Regions from separate parts of the Homo sapiens genome. Here region 1 is linked to region 2. The links are contacts of gene promoters, found by promoter capture Hi-C in blood cells and fetal thymus (Javierre and others, 2016). All regions are on one chromosome and are shown on one strand. The core of a region is centred on a gene start or on the middle of the fragment in contact, and the rest is flanking DNA. Distances in the headings are between cores, read along the strand shown.

The links. The method cuts DNA at HindIII sites, captures the fragments that hold promoters and counts their contacts. A CHiCAGO score of 5 or more calls a contact.
Region 1: a fragment that was not itself captured here is called in contact with the fragment with the promoter of ACAT2 in region 2 in 1 of 17 cell types (fetal thymus); the score reaches 5.8 in fetal thymus.

The regions. Positions count from the first base shown.
Region 1 is chr6:152,977,501-152,984,105 of GRCh38, forward strand. FBXO5 (F-box protein 5) reads right to left here and starts at 5,541. Exons shown (of 5, transcript NM_012177.5): 1 at 5,357-5,541. The coding sequence starts at 5,459. RefSeq lists silencers at 4,975-5,044, 5,525-5,844 and enhancers at 5,875-6,094, 6,385-6,504. The HindIII fragment of the contact is 257 bases long and covers 4,190-4,446 here.
Region 2 is chr6:159,758,224-159,764,588 of GRCh38, forward strand. It overlaps ACAT2 (acetyl-CoA acetyltransferase 2), which reads left to right and starts at 3,822. Exons shown (of 9, transcript NM_005891.3): 1 at 3,822-3,919; 2 at 4,696-4,830. The coding sequence starts at 3,865. SOD2-OT1 (SOD2 overlapping transcript 1) reads right to left here and starts at 4,109. Exons shown (of 2, transcript NR_037166.1): 1 at 3,771-4,109; 2 at 2,035-3,413. It also overlaps a transcript of SOD2 not described here. RefSeq lists enhancers at 3,075-3,134, 5,203-5,703 and silencers at 3,565-3,624, 3,645-3,794. The HindIII fragment of the contact is 5,525 bases long and covers 3,025-6,365 here.

The DNA of each region.
Region 1 (6,605 bases), core at 3,068-5,567, 6.8 Mb before region 2:
GGATCCTACTAAACCTAAAATTAAGGGTTCAGCTGCATAAAAAGCAAAGAATATACAAATTCTAGCTCCCTAATTAACCCTAAACCTAGAACAAATGATTCTGAGTGGTTTAGTTTTATTCAGAGGAAAAGTAAAAAATGCCAAGAGATTGCCTCTATTTTTGCCTCAAATCAACTAAAGAATTAGGTTTGATTTATATATGACCACAATTTACATGACAGGATAAAAAAGCAGAAGCCACTTATGAAGGGCACACTCTGCTTTGTTTAGCTGCCTAAACCAAAAAGGCCTGAAAATACTTCAGGAATTCAAAGTCATTCTCTTTCTGCTGTCTTTAGAACAGTTACTGGGGGGTTGTCCTATAGAACCTCTTTCATTCAACACTGTTCTTTGAATATGGACAGTTCCTTAAAATTAGAGCTAATAATGATGCAAATCCTTTATATTTGTTTAGAAGTTTGCAATTTCCAATGCTTACAAACCTTTTGAGGTAGGATGGGGAATTGTTATTTTTACAATTGAGCACACTGAAGTGTAGCTTAGTTTGCCCAATACAGGCAGTTAATTAAATGAGCCAGATTTCTCTTCCTCATTATAATGAGGTGCTCTGGAAAAACAGATCTTACAAATAACATTCATACTGTTTATAAAAATGATAGAAAAGTCAGAATTTATGTTGCAAGCGCACTTAAGGTACTAAAGAAGAAAATGTGTACGTTTCTTTTCTCATGTGAGCTGGCCCTTTTCCAGTCCTTAGTAACAATGACCTTTCCATCCCAGGGGCTTTGTACATCATGCCTTTCCCTGCTTAGAATCTTTTCCACTTCCTTTGCTTATTTAGCTTCTAATCCATTAATCATGGAGAGCTTCATTTTTTGGGGGGGGGGGGGGGGCGGGGGACTTCTCAGACCTCATCAAACTCTACTCTAAAGCACTACCAAATTGAAATTTTAAAAAGTACTTTAATTTCCTTAAAGGCCAGACATAACTGTTACTGCTTATGACAAAATCCAAGCAAATGGCAGTGCCTGACACAATGAAGACATATGATATAAAAATGTGTTTCCCATTTTTTTTTGTTAGCTAATACCAACATTAGAATCTGTACTCTTCCTCACGAAATTAGCACTTAAGGAGTTAAAATGACTACCACGTTCCTCTTGCAACAACAGTATTTTCACATGGATAATTAGATTTAGTATTTAGGTAAGGTGCAGTGGCTCATGCCTATAATCCCAACACTTTGGGAGGCTGAGGTTGGGGGACTGCTTGAGCTCAGGAGTTCAGACCAGTCTGGGCAACATAAAGAGACTCCATCTCTACAACAATTAAAAAAAGAAACTAGCTGGGCATGGTGGCATGTGCCTTTGGTACCAACTACTAGGGAGGCTGAGGCGGGAGAATTGCTTGAGCCCGGGAGGTTGAGGCTGCAGGGAGTTGTGATCATACCACTGCATTCCAGCCTGGAAGACAGAGGGAAACCCTGTCTTAAAAAAAAAGAAAAAAGAAAAAAAAAGGTTTAGTATTTTAAAAGAATTTTAATAAACTTATTTGAATTCACAGAAAAGCTGCAAGGATAGTGCAGAATTCCTGTACACCCATTGCTTAACTTATATTACTAACAGTAATGCATGTCACAACAAATTAACCAATATTGTTGCATTATTAACTAAAATCCCTATTTTATGTGGACTGCTGTAGTTTCTACCTAAAATCTTTTTTCTGTTCCCGGGTCTTATCCAGGATACATTACATTTAGTCATCATATCTCCTTAGGCTCCTCTTGACTATGACAATTTCCTTGTTTATAATTACCTTGACAACTCTGAGAAATACTGGTTATTTTGTAGCCTGTTCCACAATTAGGATTTGTCAAGTTTTTCTCAGCCTTAGTCTGGGGCTGTGGGTTTTTAGACCAGAGGTAAGGTGCTATGATTTGAACTGTTGTTAGCCTTGATTACTTGGCTGAGGTAGTATTTCTGAGCTTGCTCCAAATGTAAAGTTACTCCTTTTTGTTCTTTTTCCATTTGAAACTTTTTGGAAGGAAGTCACTATGTACACCTCACACTTAAAGGAGTGGGGAGTAAATTTATAAATCATTTGGAATTCTTCTTTACAGCAGATTTGTCCATTAATCTCCTATTTATTCATACTACCAATCATTTATATCAGTATAAACTCATAGACTTTGGGTTATAATCCAATACTATTTACTGTATTGCTCAAATTGTTCCAGCTTTTGCTATTGTGAGCTCTTGCAGTTGACATTGGTGTCCATTTCACATACTTAAATCATTTTGTGTTTTGAACATCCCTTACTTTCTGGGACTACAAGATGCTCTAAGTGCATCTTATAATTTCCGTTTCAGCCCTAGAATCAGTCATTTCTCCAAGCACTGTGGTTTCCTTTTTTTTGGAAAAAGGTATTAAATGAGAGTGAAATCTGGATGTTGGTTGTAGATTTAATTTTAAAATATGAAATTAATGTATTTTTCATTTCCATAACAATACTGCAGAAGAAATAGAATAGCATCATATTTTATAAAAATGGAAGCTGAAGCAACTGTTTGCAAAAGGTTAAATCCATTCCTTTTAACTAGCTAAGTGTTTTCCAATGACCAGGCCAAATTTGGGAAATATGTGAAGTATTCATATAATTATTATCCAGAAAGACAGAAAACATTATATGGCTTCATAACCTCTTGAATGAAACAGATGAGGGCTAAGAGTTCAGTTGAACCATTTCACTTATTTATCCAACATCCATTCAGTGACAGGGTAGGGAGAGAGAAAGATATTAATTAGGGATGATCTTTCAGCAAAGCTGACATTCTGAGATCTGAACACCTTATGGAAATCTGGTGGAGGAGTTCCAGATGGTGGGAAACACAGGAAGCAAGGAAAAATGTGAGTGTTCAAGGAAGAGAAATATCTGTAGGGCTGAGTTGGGGGAGGTTATTGAAAATTATAGTTGAAGAAGTAGAATGATCTGCAGATTTGTGGGGTAGGCTGGGTCAAAAGTGGAGAAATTTGGTTTACATTTTTAAAAGATCATTGGCAATTGTGGAGAATGAATTGCAGGAAGGTAAGTAGAAGCAGAGAGAATAGTTAGAAGTGTTTATGACAGAAGTAGAGTGTGGGAAACCCAGACTAGAAGGATTGTAGTGGAAATGAAAATAACTGCATAAATTCAAGGTCTGTTATTTAGAAGGGTAAAGTCAACTTGCTGCTAATCTACTAGATCTGGATATGAAGAAAAGGAGAGTAAAAAAACACCCTGGGGTTTAAGTCTTGAGTATCGAAGGTATACAGTGCTATTTACTGAGTATGGAAAACTGAAGAAGTTAACTCTTAAAACCTCACTTTCCTCATCCATAAAATGGGAGTAAGACAATGAAACAGGACTAAATGCAAGGCAAAGTCCCTATCACAAGGGTCTAGTCAATACAATCTATTTTTAATCACATAAGCCAAATCCCTTCATATTCCTTACATTGACAATCATTAACATTTGAAAGTAGTAAAACACATTTCACAAAGAAGTATATATTTCAGAGTAACACATACTTTTCCATTAGAATGTATAGATTTAAGAATCAGATCCAAGTTTGAATGAAAATCCTTGCTTAGCCTTTTGACTAGCTTTGTGAACTTGGAATGTCCTATTCCTATTTTTCCCCCAAGTGCAGACACTAATAAGACTCATACATGGCATTGTTTAAACTTCTCATTTACCAACTCCCAGCCCAGTCATATAGAGAAAAGTAAATTTTACAATGTTTGATCTTACATTTAACTTTTCAATATAGACCTGATCCTCCATATCAAATATCATAAATAAGGCTGCAGTCCTTAAAAATCTTTGTAACTCTTCTGTTAAATAATTAAGTTCCAGTCTCTAATACCTACAGATAACGACCATGTGGTCAACGTTAGGCATGGCTATTCCTTAAGAATTTAAGAGGCCCAATGCTTGTGACCATAAAGTAATCTTTAAGAGAAAATTTTACAAAAGCCTCCTTTGAAAACTACTTGGAAGTAACATATATGTATTTTTAATTTCATCTCCTCAAACCTGTAAACTGGGGAAAAAATTCCAACAGGCAGTCATTTCTTTCTGAGGAGCAAGGTAGTAAAGACAATTAGAGTTATCAAAAAAGAAAAAAAAAAAACCCTCATAAGGCCATCAAGCTTCAGAATTTCGATGGTAGACTGACGATCCAGGATCTTCTAGAAATATATTTAATCTATTAAAATTAAAATTAAGTATTTTTTTCTAGAGTTCTTTTTTAATAATAGAGTCATTACAAAATAGTACAATGCCGAATTGCTAAATTTTTTCATTTTGGGTTATTTCTCAGGTAAAAATAAGTGCATATAGATTTTATTTAGAGGTAGCAACAAAGAGGATAAAAATAAGCATTTGAGTGCATTCCATTCTCTGCAAGCTTTGAAATAAAGGACTATCTAATTCTTCATGAGTTATCGGGAAAAAGTCACCAATTCTTCGATTCTTACAAAATCATCTTAATACTATGGACAAATTCAAGGTTCGTAGTAAAAATTGCTTTTTTTAAAGTCTTCCCTTTCCACTCCAGGCCCTGAGACTGGGTTAACGGGCAAAGGGAGAAAAAATTGGGAAAAAGTAACGTTTTTGTTTGGATGTCCCAGTTGAGTTTGGTCCAATGAGTTGGGGGGGTGTCTCTCCATTTGGCGGGAGTGGGGAGGGAGACCCTGGAACTCCTGAGGGATCGGTGGGGCTGCCCCTCAGGGCGCGGGACACGCGGAGGAGGCGGGAGATAACCGCGAGCGCGATCTCCCGCGCCCGCCAGCAAGGCTGGGACCGCGAAAAATCGGGGAAACTGCCTTTGGCTGTGAGGGTGCGGGGCAGATGTAGAAAAGGGGCGCAGGGGGAGAAGGTGAGGCACCTGGCCAGGCCCTGGGGGCTTCTCGCTCGCAGCCCTGTCACCGCCGGGGGCCCCGGGGTGGGGGAGGGGAGGGGCATTTGGCGCCTATTCAAGCAGGGTGGGGTAGGTGGGTCTTCCGAGGAGGAAAAAGGGCGCCCTGGGATGCCACGACCCGCACCTCCCGGGGCTGGAGTCCACGGTCGGCGTGGGTGGCGGGACCCCGCGGCCCGCCATCCCGCCCCTGCACATCTGGCTCTTCTGGCTTCCCCCCGACACCCAGCCGCCCTCCTCCCGGACCCAGGAACCGCTGCCGCCGCCCGAGGCCGGGCGTGTGGCATGGCCGCGCGTCCAGGCTCCGAGGGACGTCGGGTCAGGGTCTCAGGCTGCGACCCTCCCCGTGCACCCCTCCTGGCGTGCGCGCCCCCCTCGCGACCGCTCCCCTCACTCACTATCCGAGGGTCGAGGGCGCCCGGCGGCTGTCACTGCGCTGGGGCTGGCGCTGCAGGAGCAGCGGGGTGGCCGTAGGGCGCAGCTGCAGGGGCGCCGGCTCATGCCAGCCGACGTGGAGTCTGCCTCAGGTGGAGGAACCGCTCCGGGGGCAGCTGAGCAACCTGCCTGCTTCACAGACCTGTATCTCTTAAAAGGCGCCAGCTGGTACTTTTAAAATCTTTGAATTTGGTGCCTAAATCCGCGCGGTCCAATGAGACGCGTCGCTTGCATGCGCGCACCAATAGGAGGGCAGTGGGTGGGGGCGCCCTCGTCCGCGCCCAATTGGAGGCTGCCGAGGCGGGGCCGAGCCGCGAAGCCCAGCCCCCTTCCAGCTTACCGGCTCCCCACGTCCGGAAAGATGCTACGGCCGGGGGCGGGACCTCCGAGCACGGGGAGGCCGCGGCCCGGCCACACGTGTGGAGGGTCTATCACGCATGCGTGCGCCCGCCAAGATTCCTTCCGCCGTCTTCTGGACCGGCCTCCTGCAAGTCCTAATCTCAGCCCAAATTCAGCGCTGGCTTCCATCTGGAGATCTTTGATGGGTACAAATGGTAGCCGACTTTCTTCGATCATCTCTCGAACGGGAGTTCGGTGAGCAGCAACTCGGCTCGTCCGGGAATCCAGACTTTCCGGAAGACGGACCCTCCCCCCAGTCCAGCTTAGCCCGCCTCTCTAGGATTTACGCGCGCGCTCTGCTCTCCCTCCTAACTCGACCCTCCCCTTGACCCACGCCTCTGCGCAGGCGCCTTGGCGGGCTGTGGCTGCGGAGTTGGCGGGTCGGCGCCTGCGCACTGGAGTCCCCCGCGATTTTTTCCTCCGGGGTGGGCGAGGAGGCTGTGCGGCCTTCCCCAGCGGCTGTAGCAGGAGACCTGCGGCTGCATCTCCCAGGGCCTTCCGGCGGGGCCGAGGGTAGGACCGAGGCACTTCTTCCTTGCAAGCGCGTTTATTTGTATTTTCAACCACACTTCAGACGCTACTGGTTTATAGGAACGTTAAGTTTACTGAGTGTGCAGCTACGCTCCCCTGGGTTTTTGTTCCTTTCCTTAAAGGGCCAGGTGTAGGAGACAGTAGTCCTGCTCCCAAAAAAAGAATAAATAGAAGTGCCCGCCCTCTTGGGCTGGACCCCCGTGGCCAAGGGAGTTTTTAGTGATGGCTGGCATGGACGTCAGTATGAAAGTGTACCGGAGTATTAGTGATGCTTAACTTTTC
Region 2 (6,365 bases), core at 2,572-5,071:
CACTCACTGCTGTCTTAGCTTGGGCTGCTGTGAAAAAAAAAAAAAACCACAGACTGGGTGGCTTTACACGCGCATTCCTCACTGTTTTTGGAGGCTGGGAAGTCTAAAGATCACAGTGCCCCCTGATTGGTGCCCCAGTTTGGTTCCTGGTAGTCCTCATACAGAGAGCGCAATAGATGTCAGTTTCCTTGGCTCCTCAGGTGTATTGGATACAACTGACTACTCCAGTTTTTGAGACACTTTTGCAAAACAATGTAAAGCCATTCCTTCTGACAACTTACTTTCTCAGATGTTCCCTCTTTCATGAGTAGTTATGCCCTGTACTCAAATCATTGCCTGCTGCTCTACGTCACTGTCTTGGGAGTTCACCTATCCCTGTGGTTATAGTGAACACTTTCATAATCCCAGGTAATGTCATTAACTGATCTGGACCCATCATGGGGTGGCTGTGCTGAGGGAGTGTTGAGCTAGCCCCTAGTGGTAAGGAGTACACTGCTGACCTTCATCCTATGGCAATTCCACTTTGGTGATTCACTGTTCCCCTCATGGAGACCAAGGAGGAATTTGCTGCATGGTAGGTTGGTGAATCCAGCCTGTAGCAAAGACCTGGCTTGGACTCCTGCAACTCTTTATGAAACTTAACCAAGAATGATTGCATCTTCCAGCGGGGGAAGATGCTGAGAAGGCCCCTTCAGGATAAACTGGCTCCATAGCACTGCTGTAATGATGGCTCCTCATGAGTAAGCACTTGGAGATTTTTGTGGCTTCCTGCCCACTCACCCTGCTCACCAGTCCAGGTAGTTTATGATTTGAGATCTAGATGTAATTTTATTTTATTTCTTTTTTTTTTTTTGAGATGGAGTTTCGCTCTTGTTGCCCAGGCTGGAGTACAATGGTGCAATCTCGGCCCACCACAACCTCCGCCTCCCAGGTTCAAGCAATTCTCCTGCCTCAGCCTCCCTAGTAGCTGGGATTTACAGGCATGTGGCACCACGCCCAGCTAATTTTGTATTTTAGTAGAGACAGAGTTTCTGCATGTTGGTCAGGCAGGTCTTGAACTCCCGACCTCAGGTGATCTGCCCGCCTCGGCCTCCCAAAGTGCTGGGATTACAGGCATGAGCCACCGCGGCCGGCCAAGACATAATTTTAAAAATTATCTTCCAGCTGGCCGGGCGCGGTGGCTCACGCCTGTAATCCCAGCACTTTGGGAGGCCGAGGTGGGCGGATCACAAGGTCAGGAGTTCGAGATCAGCCTGACTAACATGGTGAAACCCCGTCTTTACTAAAAATATAAAAATTAGCTGGGCATGATGGCACGGGCCTGTAATCCCAGCTACTCAGGACTCTGAGGCAGAAGAATCGCTTGAACCCGGGAGGTGGAGGTTGTGGTGAGCCGAGATAGCGCCACTGCACTCCAGCCTGGGTGACAGAGCGAGCTCCGTCTCAAAAAAAAAAAAAAAATTCCTCTTCTTTCCTTCATTCATTATTCTTAGTCTCTGTCTGTCTCATATGAGTAGATAATCATATGAGTAGCTATAATGAGGACTCCTCAGGGGACAGATTCTGTTTGGCCACTCAGCAGAAGCATGCAATTACCTTCTCAAGATTGGCTCCTAAACTTACTCTAGATAGAGCCTTCAGGCAGGAAACTCTATATCCCTTGGCTCCAGAAGAATATATTCATACTCATTCAAATGTGCTAGGCACTGGCCATAAAGAATATTGGTGTTCATTCATAACTGCCTATAATGTGCTAGGAGCTGTGCATAAAGCAGTGTAACAGGATCATCTTGGAAAGCTTATGTAGTCAGTAGAGGAGACAGATAAACTAGGAATTACATGGTAAGTTGAAAGAGGAAGTTAGGGGTAAGATGCTGCACCAAATGCAGGAGATTGGAAGGTTTTTCTGGAAGAAGTGATGTTTAGGGGGAGTTTCAGAGGTAAATTTCTGGTTTGGTTAACAGAAGATAGTTTCACTGCTCACTGAGATTACAGAAGAAACAGGCTGGAAGAGTTTGGTTTCAATATGTCAAATTTGATGTGCTTATAGGAAATTTTATTTATTTGAGACAGTTTCTCTCTGTCGCTCAGGCTGGAGTGCAGTGGTGTGATCTCGGCTCACTGAAACCTCTGCCTCCTAGGTTCAAGCGATTTTCCCATGTCAGCCTCCCCAGTAGCTGGGATTACAGGCGCACGGCACCACGCCCGGCTAATTTTTCTATTTTATGGTAGAAACGGGATATCACCATGTTGGCCAGGCTGGTGTCAAACTGCTGACCTCAAATGATCCGCCCTCCTCGGCCTCCCAAAGTGCTGGGATTACAGGTGTGAGCCAAGGTGCCCGACCTGATGTGCTTGTAAGAATTTAAATGAAGAGGGTCAGTCAGCTTAGGAGACGAGGTTAGATGTAAGGATTTCAGACTTGTCAGTATACAGGTGGTGATTGATGCCGTAGGAATGACTGGTATTACCCAGGGAGCTGGTGCAAAGTAGGAGCCTTGGGGAACATGTTAAGGGGATGTGAGAGTAAGCCCACAAAGACTCAGAAGTGGCCAGGGAGTAAGGGGAAAATGGGATAGAATAGAGCAAAAGCCACGGGAGGCATTCCTTGAATTCCTTGGACTCAGATATGTTAGGGGACAGGAAACACATTGAAGACAACTGAAGAGACTTCAGTGTGCTGCTGAGTTCTTAGCAGAGTAGACAGCTGATTTCACCACTATTCCAGACCCTAAAGATTTCTCCTGAAATTGCACTGTTATGCAATTTTTTTCCTTCTCTATTGCCCCACCTCTGGGGCCTACACTCTTTACCTTCTCTGATTTATCTGACCCATCCGCATATCTCTGCAAAGTCTTAATGTAGGTTTCCAGGATTTAATGATTCTTTCAATCAACTTTAAAGTTCTTCAGGAAGATTCTCCAGGTCCGTCAACAGTTTTCCCCTTCATGACTTTGTGACAAAGCTTTCTTGTTCCACTATCCAGGTGTTCCCAACAAGTTGCTGTAACGGTGGCCCCTCATAAGCTTGCCTGGAAACCCTAGAAAGCTCAGAAAAATTATGAACTTTGCCCAGTAAGAGGCTGGGAAGTCAGAAAGGGTTTTAAACAAAACTGACCCCACTTGTTACATGCTCCTTTCACTGTCCAAACGTCAACCAAAGGAACTTTTGTGACGCTAAGACGCTCCCGGCGTCCTCACCCGTTCACAGCCAGAGTTGATCTTAGAAGGCAGGGGGCTCGCACCGAGACGCTCCTAGCAAGCCCCTCACGCGAGCGAATGACTGGCGCCAGGAGAAACGCATAGGACCTCCCGAAGCCGCCGAGAGCAAAAGGACCCATCAGAGCTGTGCTGAGACCCGCCGCGGGCCGGGCTCGCACTCGAGATTCTCGCCCGTGGGATTCCAGTCCTGAGCTGAACGAGAGATAAGTCTTTGTCACCCCCCAGTCTTTACTGTTTCGAGAAACCCTAAGATTTTTTAAAAAAAAGCCCAAGACGTCAAGTCGGGGAACTCCAACATTGGGGTGTCCAGAAACACTGGGGTTTCAGGCGCTCTGTAAATGCGTCCGAGGTCCGCGGTTCTGCCCGCAAGCCCAGACCCCGGCCTCACTTCCGCCCCGCGCCCCGCGCCCCGGCCTCACTTCCGCCCCGCGCCCCGCGCCCCGCGCCCCGCGCGCCTCCGCCCGCCCCTGCTCCGGCCTTGCGCCTGCGCACAGTGGGATGCGCGGGGAGGTGGTGCGCGGGGAGGTGGAGGGCGAGGGGCGGGGCTACCTCAGGTCCCGCCCGCGGCAGGCCTGTGGGCTGCGAGGAGGAGCTTTGCCTAGCTTGCAGGCAGCGCAGGGCAGACGGCGGCAGGAGAAGCAAGATGAATGCAGGCTCAGATCCTGTGGTCATCGTCTCGGCGGCGCGGACCATCATAGGTGAGTGGCCGGCGGGAGCCGCGCAGAGTCCGAGGCGCCTGCTGCTTCGGCAGGAGCGCCGAGGGCCGGACTTGTGTAGGAGAGGGGCGTATGTGGAGGAAGCCGGTCAGGCCAAGCCGCGAGGAGCCGCGGGATCCCTGGAACCCTGCGGCTCCCGCGTTCCCTGACCTGGTGCTACAGCCCCACCCTCTCCTCTCCCGATGTGCGCACTCCGTCCCTCGTGCTTGGATTGGCTCCCGGGGTAGAGCCATCGCGTGGCCTGCCTCTCCCATTGGTTGGCGTAGGGAGGTGTTCTCCTCCGGGGCCCCTGATTGGCCGGCTCCGGGAGGCGCCATCGGTAATGCCTGCGGCAGGGGCGGAACTGCTAGGTGGTCTGAGCCCGGCTTTGGGCTGGGGTCGGGCTGTCACACAATGGCTAGAAGTCGTGACTTCGTCTCCTTCGTGCCGCATGGTTTTCAACGCCCTTGACCCGCCGGTTCCTTTTGTTTGGGAAGCATGGGGTCGCATCCAGTCCTTCGGATTTGGGGAAATAGAAGGGCTACAGCGGCGTCCCTAGGCCGTTCTGGAGGTCGCCTGTCCAGCCCTCGGCTGCTGCGAGTTGTGGCACCCACCTTGACCTTTGCTCAGACCAGCAGGTGTAGGAACGTGTGGGAGGAGAGGGCACTGCCTCCTCGCGTGGCCTTGCCAAACAGGGTCATGAGGCTCCCCTGCTCGTAGGTGGTTCCCGTATTACCCGCAGGCTTGTGATGTCCACGCTCTCCGCCTTTCTATTGTAGGTTCCTTCAATGGTGCCTTAGCTGCTGTTCCTGTCCAGGACCTGGGCTCCACTGTCATCAAAGAAGTCTTGAAGAGGGCCACTGTGGCTCCGGAAGATGTGTCTGAGGTCATCTTTGGACATGTCTTGGCAGCAGGTAAGTCTCAGTGATTCCAGGAGAAGTCAGGCTTATTAGAAACAGCCCATAAACACACACACACACACACACTCTCACACACTCACACACTCTCTCACTCACTCAAGTTCTTGCCTCCTTGCTTTTGCTCAGAGTTCCCTCTGTTATGATTCCTCCTGTTGGCCCCCTTCTTCCAGCCCTGTCAGTAGCTTCTATCCAGCTTGAGACTCAGCTTCTTGGCCAGGCAGGGTGGCTCCCGCCTGTAATCCCAGCACTTTGGGAGGCGGAGGAGGAAGGATCACTTGAGTCCAGAAGTTTGAGACTAGCCTGGGCAACAAAGCAAGACCCCGTCTCTACAAAAAATAAAATAGCCAGGTATGATGGCCTGTGCCTCCCAGCTACTGGAGAGGCTGAGGTGGGAGGATCACTTGAGCCCAGGAGTTTGAGACTGCAGTGATTGTGTCACTGCACTCCGTCATGGGTGACAGAGTGAGACCCCTTCTCTAAACAAACAAAAAGACTTAGCTTCATTAATATGCTTTTTGTGAATGAACTTAGACCACTGACCTACACCACCTACACTGCCTTTTCTTTTCCTTTTTTTTTTTTTTTTTTTTTTTTTTTTGAGACGGAGTCTCTCTCTGTGGCCCAGGCTGGAGTGCAGTGGCGTGATCTCGGCTCACTGCAAGCTCCGTCTCCCGGTTTCACGCCATTCTCCTGCCTCAGCCTCCCGAGTAGCTGGGACTACAGGCGGCCCACTGCCTTTTCATTCTTACGAAGCAGGGCCGGCCGGGCCCGGTGGCTCACGCCTGTAATCCCAGCACTCTGGGAGGCCGAGGTGGGCGGATCATGAGGTCAGGAGATCAAGACCATCCTGGCTGACACGGTGAAACCCCGTTTCTACTAAAAATACAAAAAATTAGCCGGGTGTGGTGGCGGGCGCCTGTATTCCCAGCTACTTGGGAGGCTGAGACAGGAGAATGGCGTGAACCCGGGAGGCGGAGCTTGCAGTGAGCTGAGATTGTGCCACTGCACTCCATTCAGCCTGGGCAACAGAGTGAGACTCCTTTTAAAAAGAAGAAGAAGAAGCAGCAGCAGGGCCAGCCTGACGCATAGGAAAGTATGCCTGCTCCTCCTTACTACCTCAAAGTGTCACTCATTCAACAAAAATGTATTCAGTTCCTCCTATGTGCCCCATACTGTGCTTAGTGCTGGGAGTATGGTTCCAACAATACAGGTAAGTTCCCTGCCCTCTTAGGGCTCAGTTCTGAGCTTGGAAAATAGGTGCCACATCATGCCCCTTGCAAATGGGGCATATCACTCCCCAGAGGAATATAGCTGAGTCCTGAGAGTGCCCCCATCTTCTGATTCTTTGGGTTTGAACACTCGTAATTAATTAATTAATTATTATTATTATTATTTAAAGAGACAGGGTCTCACTCTGTTGTCCAGGCTGGAATGCAGTGGTGTAATCAATCGTAGCCCACTATAACCTCAAACTCCTGGGCTCCACGGTATCCTCCCACCTCAGCCTCTGGAGTAGCTGGGATTACAGG